Linked DNA regions of Homo sapiens: region 2 is linked to region 1. The links are contacts of gene promoters, found by promoter capture Hi-C in blood cells and fetal thymus (Javierre and others, 2016). All regions are on one chromosome and are shown on one strand. The core of a region is centred on a gene start or on the middle of the fragment in contact, and the rest is flanking DNA. Distances in the headings are between cores, read along the strand shown. Region 1 holds the start of PRICKLE2-AS3 (PRICKLE2 antisense RNA 3). Region 2 has its middle 83 kb from the start of PRICKLE2-DT.

Region 1 (3,927 bases), core at 426-2,925:
TAATCAAGATAGCAAATGTACCTATCACCCCCAGAACTCTTGTCAATCCTTTTGTCGTTCCTCCCTCTCATTTCCCCATCCCCAAGTAACCATTGATCTGCTTTCTGTCACTACAGATTAGTTTGCATTTTCTAGAGTTTTATATAAATGAAATCACATAGTGTGTACTATTTTGCCTGGCTTCTTTCATTTGGAATAATGATTCTCAGACTCTGATTCACTTTGCATAGATCAACAGTTCATTCACTTTTATTGTGAAGTAGTAGTATACTATATAGATATAATACAATATGTTTATCCATGTACCTGTGGATAGACTTTTGAGTTATTTCCAATTTTTGACTATGGAAAAGAAAACTAAGAGCAGCCACTTTAAAAACCCCAAATGTTTAAAACATTGTTTCATTTAATTTTCACAACTATGCTGTAGTTAAGTACTGACATCCTTGTTTTTCAGAAGATGAGATGAAAGTTTGGGGAGGTGAATTAACTTGGCCAATGTTGGAAAGCAGCACAGCTAAAATTTGAACACAGAGCTAGTTATCATCGAAGCTTAGACTCTCAAACACTTATGAGCCCAGAAGGATAGTTACTCAAAAGACAGAAGTTATCGGAGGCCAGCACAAAGCCTGATGTCTGCATGGGTCTTCCATGAGACACTTTCTACATCTACCTTTGTATGGCTCCAGGCCACCTAAAGCAACATATAAAGACTGGTGTTGGAAAGCTCCAGTTTTTGATTGGACCTGGAAAACTGCCATATTGAAATCACACCTATACTAACAGCTTGCACATATGGGTACTTAATAAACAACTGTTGAACGAATAAATGGCTGAATGCACAAATAAATGCATAAAGGAAGGCACAGGCAGATAAATAGATTGAGGAAGGAAGTTAGTTACTTGCTGATTTGGTGGTGGATTAATCCAATCATCCCATGAAATTACTCAAAATATCTCCTGCGTCATAAGGCAGAGGAGATCATCTTGATACTACATTAACTCTCACACCAGGCTACAGTGTAGACTGCCCAGTCAGCAGAAAGGGTGTGCAGCTGTGAATTTATGCAGGAAGTCTAAGTAAGAGGCCAAGTCCCAAACTTTAGGACCCCAGAGTGAATTTACTGTAAAGGTTGGAGATACCTGTCTTGAAAGCTAGAACTCCAATGGCAGGTCTCTCATCCTGCATTTGCAAATGAGCCTTGGCCTTTCTAGGCCTCATAATCTGCACGCAAGCCTTGACAAGTCCCTGCTGGTGGAATCTGGCCGTGTTGCTGCTGACTTCATCTGGCAGAGGCCCTGAAGCCTGGGAACCCAGGTTCTAGTCCCAACTCTGACAGCTCCGTTGAAAACAAGTTTATTAACAGGCAGTTTTAGTGAAAGCTGCACACACAGGCATATTTCCCATTGCCATCTGATGACATCAGTGTATTTCTGGAGCCAAGATAAATACAGCATTGTTCATGTGACTAGCTTCCCAAGAAGAGTGAGGTGGACTGCTCTGAAGCCTCCTCCTGCCCTGCCCCCTTCTTCCCTCCCTTCCCAACTCATCTCTCAAACTGCATTGAAAACACCGAGGTGAGTGACAGTGAAGGCTAACTAGGAGATGCAGCTTAGGGGGAATTTAATCCAATTCAGTTGGAGAGACATGCATCTCCCTGTACCATGAAATTCCATTTTGATCTCAGCATGTGCTGATGGAGTAATGAAATAAAGACAACACTCTGCAAATGGCTGGTGAGTCTAATGATGGTTTTTATGGGGGTTTTAGAAGGGCTATTAGATTGTGCATTCCTTTCCTATAAGCCAAAACCACCCAGCAGACCTTGGGAGATGAACCATTTTATCATTCTTCTCTCCCTTCCCCCAGCATCTGCCAGCCTTTGTCCCTCCTGGTATAAATAGCTTCTCACATAAAAGAGCAAACTGTCAGTAGCCTGAAAGCTAACGGTAAAGCTGGACGCCTGGCACTGTGGCCCCAGCCGGGTGGTGGTGAGTCACAGCTGTATAATTCACGGTCCTGCAGTAAAAGGTATCAGCGCATGCTCTAGGTTAACAGGCCAGAAAGGGAGCTGAAGAAACAGGGCCAATGAAAGACTTTTAAAAGCATCTTGAGTTTTCCTTTAACAATCAGCCTTGTATTTGGGTGATATCCAGGGCATGCCAGTCAAAGGCAAAAAGACAGGAATGGGATTGGGTAGCTTCTGGGGCACACCCTTCATCCGTATCTGCACGCAAATCTGCTTCAGTGTCTTGGAGATTCAAATAATGATTCTGATGAGGACAGCAGCTACCATTTGCTGAGGACCTATTTGGTGTCTGCTTTGTCCTAGGATCCTTACAAAGATGAATTCACTTCTTCTCTGTTAGCTACTTTAGACTTGGGCAGAAGCATCCCCGTGTTACAGCTAAGAAAACTGATGCTTGAGATGCCCAAGGTTACAGAGTTAAGTGATGGAGTCTAGATGTGGCCTCATCTATTCCTAGCAATGTGGCTTTTCCATTAGCCAACAGTAATGGCTCTCAAGCTTTGTCATGCATGAGAAACACCTAAAAGCTTTGTTGAAACAGATTGTTGGGCTCCATCTTCAGAGTTCTGGTTTATTTGGTCTGGGGCAAGTCCCAAGAGTCTACATTTAACAAGTTCCCAGGTGATACTAGTGCTACTGGTATGGGAACCTCGTTTTGAAAACCACGGGACGAGGCAGACCAAATCTGGGTAATCAAGCCATCATTCCATGTAAAGTCCCAGCTCAAATGTCACTTCTGCAGAGAGGCTTCTCTTAGCCATCCAATATAAAGTAGATAGATTCTCTAAATCAGGGGTCTGTGTTTCAAATCAGGCCCCCTTCCTGTTTTTGTAAGTAAAGTTTTATTGTCACATGACCATGCCCATTTGTTCACCTATTGTCCAATGCCTGCTTTCACATTACAACATCAGAGTTGGGTATTTGCCACTGAGACTGTACAATCCATGAAGCCTATATTTACTATCTAGATCTTTACAGACAAAGCCTGTCAACTCCTTGCTCCAGATCATATCACCCTTTCTTATTGCTTTGTTAATAGACGTCGGTCTCTGAATGTGTCTTGTTATTCAGCTATTAAGTTGTCTGCATCCTTCACTAAACTGTCAGCTCCACAAAGGCAGAAGTACTTGCTTTTCTATTCACAGCTGTCCCCTAGTGCCTAGGAAAGTACTTGCCATATAGTTGGCACTCAAAAAATATTTGCTGAATGAATGTCACTATTGAGTGCCCAGGTACGTGACGCTGTCTGTACCAGTAACATGAGAGCCCCTGGAGGAAGTACAGTAAAGCCAGGGTAAGAGAGTGAGAAGAGATAAGGATAAACAGAGATTGTCGATAGGGAAACAAATCTTTGAAGCAGGGCCATGCTGCTTCCTGCAGTGGTGGGGAAACTGGAGGTGGGGAAAAGATGAATTCCTTAGTCACTAAGGTCAACCTCAGATTAGGAGAAATTTCCCATCCCTAAGAATGAAAGAGACTGTGTGACTCATGCTGTTCCCCTCCTCCAACTCACACCAAGTCTGCTTTCTTGGATCTGATTCCCTGAGTGGAGCAATGTGCATGCTCTTCACTGTGCATGAGGAAGGGGTGGAGGAGGAAAAGCCCACACGGGCACTAGAGTCAGACAAATGGCTGGTTCAAGTGCTGTCTTTGTCCCTCGCTGACTGCGGCATCTTGGTCAAGTTTCTGATCCTGTGAGCCTCAATGATTTCAATGGAGAAATAGAAGATTTTGTACCAAGGATTAAATGGGACTGTTTATTCACGCAAACCCTGTTTATTAAATGGCTAGCATGTGCCCAGCATTATTTTTGGTACTGAGCATAGAGTGGTGAATAAGACAATGTCCGTCTCTAACAGACTCACATTTTGGAAGGTAGTATGGACATAAATAAATG
Region 2 (3,927 bases), core at 806-3,305, 180 kb after region 1:
AATTTTTGTGTGTGTGTTTTTTTTTAAAGGAGCAACGTATTTATAAACTTGTCCACGAACTATTATTGTAAATGGGTAAGAAATGTGTACATGTGTGAAGAGAAACAGGAAAAGAAAATGGAAAAATATATTTGGCATATGACCATGTAACATGACATCTAAGTAAAAGCACTAAAGAGAATTTATGTATTAAAATAGTCAAGGTCATTAAGCAAACAGCACAGTAATAGGTGTTGCAAGCAAAAATCATTAATGGAGGCTAAATTGGGTGGGCAGAAGTATGATGAGAAACATGATACTTGCAAAGTCTTAAAAGTGTCTCCCCACAAGATACTTATTACAAAGAGAAAAAGAGTTTTGCAGTGGAGGAGCCTAGTAGACAGTACCTTAAATGAGTGATCAAAGTAAGCATAACCAGTAATGTCACCATATCGCCTACCCCCAACATGCTGCACTGAGAAGGGCACAGCATCGCTTCTGTGGTCTTGTCAAAAAAGCCAACCTCAGGTCAGGCATGGTGGCTCATGCCTGTAATCCCAGCACTTTGAGAGGCTGAGGCGGGTGGATCATTTGAGGTCAGGAGTTTGAGACCAGCCTGGCCAACAGGGTGAAACCCCATCTCTACTAGAAATACAATAATTAGCCATGTGTGGTGACACATGTATGTAATCCCAGCCATTTGGGAGGCTGAGGTAGGAGAATCGCTTGAACCAAGGAGGCGGAGGTTACAGTGAGCCAAGATCGCACCACTGCACTCCAGCCTGGGTGACAGAGGCAGACCCTGTCTCAAACAAACAAAAAAAAAAGCCCACCTCAGTTTAATCAAGCAAACATATCAGAAAACTCAGATGGAAGGACACTCTAGGAAAGACAATGACAGGAACTGTGGCAGACTGGAGGACGAGACTAGAGGAGACAGGACAACTAAATGCAATGTGAGATCCTGGCTAGGATCCAGGATCAGGAAAAAACAACATGCATGGAAAAGCTGCTGAATTTTGAATAAGGTCTATAGTTTTGCTAATAGCACTGCATTAATGTTAATTTCCTAGTTTTGATATTGTACAATGATTTTGTAATATATTAACCCTAGGGGAAGCAGGGAGAAGGGTATGTAGGAGCTCTCAGTATTACCTTTGCAACTTTCTGAGAATTATTTCAAAATAAAAGTATTTACAGATTACTGAAGTTTAGTTATCTAAAAATAAATGTGAATAAAATATTTAATATTTTCTTCCCTCCTGCATTGAATCATTGGGTGTATGTGCATTGGAGATAAAAGGATGGGGTCAAGGATGGCTGGGGAAGATTACTAAGTCTCCTATGGATAGAAAGGTGAGCCAAGCCTTGAATGTGGACAGTCTAATTATGGAGCCTGACACATAAAGAAATGCATCACTTTAATAACTGAGGAGGGCTATTGGGCAAGTGATTACGGAATGGTAGAAACAATCCTGGATTTTGAGTCAAAGCCATGGATACAAACCCTCAAGTGTTGGCCCGAACACAATAAAGCTTTGAGATCTTGAGTCAGTCACTCAGTATCTATGGAAATGGACATAAACAAACTTTATTGCACACGACTATTGTGAGGATAAAGTGAACAGAGGTGTCTGAAAGCATTAGGTAAATGGGAGAGCCCTGCTATGACAAGGTTGTTAAAATTACCAAGATTAACAATAATATCCACGTAGCCAAAATAATACCGTAATTTCACTCCTAAGCTACAGCATCCTAGCATCTAATGGTACCCATCCCATATGGAAGCAAATCTGTCTTGCCTTCTGTCTGACCTTGGAGCCTGGGGCCACCAGTCTTCATGTGTGGTCAGTATTAAGCACCATCTGTCCTGAGTTAACACAACTCCTTCTAGTTTAAGCAATGAACACAGGCTGCAATGGCTAAAGCCTAAATAACTGCAATATGAAGAAAGGCTTTCCCACCCTGTTTGTCACTTTGGATGCATAGTGTTCACCTCCCAGGTGTTTACCCATCTAAATTGTGTGATGAAATGTCTTTTGAACACTTTTACAAGCAGTTAGATGCAATCAAGTTCTCTTCTTGCTTAAGACTCCTCAGCAAAGAAGATACTAAAAAAAAAAAAAAAAAAAAAAAACACAATAAGTGGCTGGGCTGCTTTGCAAATCTTTTCCTGCTGTACTTACTTCCTTGCAGTCATTCTACCTCTCCCCTCCCCTCCATAAAAAGCCCTAATGATTGTGACATTCATGATCTCTAGTGGGGTCGTTTTTCTCACTGCTCATCCGTATGATAATATGAGATGAAAAGGAAGCTGTATGTTAGGGCCATCTGTTGTTTAAATCTCTTCAAGATCCATTCACTCTTCTGGTAATAGTACCTAGGTTTTCCTCTGGGTGTCCGCCTGCCTCTTGCTCCCAGTCTCTGTGGGTAGCTCCCACAGCAGTACAAATTGAGCCAGAATTGGCCGATCAGCATAGTCCATCCATCCTCCTATGGTTAGAAAGTTCAGGGATGGGTATGTGCCTCACCTCAGAGCAAGGAAATCTCATGAGGCATGCAGGAGTGTCTGGAAATGGAAATCTCTCTTTTCCTGGGGTACTATGTTAACAGAATGTAAGCTTATGGCTGCTGAGGGCCCTCCTGCAAGCACAAGAAGGGGGCCTATCCCAAGAGAAGGTAAGACCAGGGACAGCAGGAGAGAGAGGAGAGAGAACCTCATGGGTGGGGAGAACTCTACTGAAATCATCATACCACCTGTGTGCAGGCCTAAAGCCAGTGCTACACCCACCCCACCTCCCCAGTCACTGACTGCTCAGTTAAATGAGCTGATATTCTTTTTTGCATCAGTCACTTTAAGTTTGGTTTCTGTCCCTTGTGACCTAAAGTGATCTGACTGTGAAACCAGGAAAATAAACATTAAACACTACCTTCTGTGAAAACGGAAGGTGCTACCAGCATACATCTGTAGTTTTTGTGGGGTCAGGCCTGGCTGCCCAGGGTGACCCACATCATCTCACACCCCTCACCTTAGGGTCATAGGAGGTAAGTATCATTTGCAACTAGCAGGTTTAAGGAGCCATCTGAAACAAGGGAATAGAGATTTTCTGGGTTGAGCTAGCTCATACCATATTCAGCCCCCCAAAACCCTGTCTAGCCTCACTTATCTTTTACTTCCCAAGTCTCTGACATTCCAGTCACCCAGGATGTCTTTCTTTTCCCTAATTCACAGTGCACTGCTTCATGCTGTCATGCTAATGCACTGGCTCTCAACTCCAAGTTCCAAGCCTAAGACCTCCAGTGGGAGGTTTCCCAGGACTTCTCCAGATGGAGTTGGTGGCCATTACTATGAAATCCCATAGCATCTTGTAAGGTCATACTGCAGCATTAGGTACAGGTGACCATGTGATGAGACAAATATTGATACACAAATGTTCCCACCCTTCCTCACCCTATGGATGCAAGTCCTGGATTTGCCCTGCTAGTGTCTTCATCTCCACCTTATACCCTCCCTGTATTCTGACGATGAAGTCTGAGGACTGAGCAGGAGCTGCATTTTCCAGAGGACTTTGTTTAGATCTCTGAAAAGCTGAATGGAGAGAAAGTGAGAATGAAGCAGGAGAAACTGGAGAGATGTGAGGGCTAGTGCTGAAGGAATAGTGTTTTCTGAGGCACTTGAAAGAGAAAGATAGACAGGAACCAACAATGGGAGGGGGAAGCGGATAGGTGGAGAAAATAGGGTTTGTAAAGAACTGTTTCTGAGTATCCCTTCATTATGTTTGAGAAGAGCAAGAAAGGATGGATGTTATCTTGCAGTTACCTTCAGTTGCCAAATGTGCTTCTTTGATCACAACACCTCTCTTAAACACACCGGTTTCTGACATATATGCACCAAATACACACACCGACCAAAATGCACTGCCTTCATTGCAATGTAATTTTACTAAG

Evidence for each region. The method cuts DNA at HindIII sites, captures the fragments that hold promoters and counts their contacts. A CHiCAGO score of 5 or more calls a contact.
Region 2: a fragment that was not itself captured here is called in contact with the fragment with the promoter of PRICKLE2-AS3 in region 1 in 1 of 17 cell types (megakaryocytes); the score reaches 6.2 in megakaryocytes.

Annotation. Positions count from the first base shown.
Region 1 is chr3:64,185,869-64,189,795 of GRCh38, forward strand. It overlaps PRICKLE2-AS3 (PRICKLE2 antisense RNA 3), which reads left to right and starts at 1,676. Exons shown (of 4, transcript NR_046702.1): 1 at 1,676-1,737. The region is part of intron 2 of PRICKLE2 (prickle planar cell polarity protein 2); the gene reads right to left. The HindIII fragment of the contact is 1,976 bases long and covers 551-2,526 here.
Region 2 is chr3:64,360,720-64,364,646 of GRCh38, forward strand. No RefSeq gene overlaps it. Among named protein-coding and RNA genes, the nearest start is that of PRICKLE2-DT, 83 kb to the right of the region's middle. The HindIII fragment of the contact is 1,085 bases long and covers 1,514-2,598 here.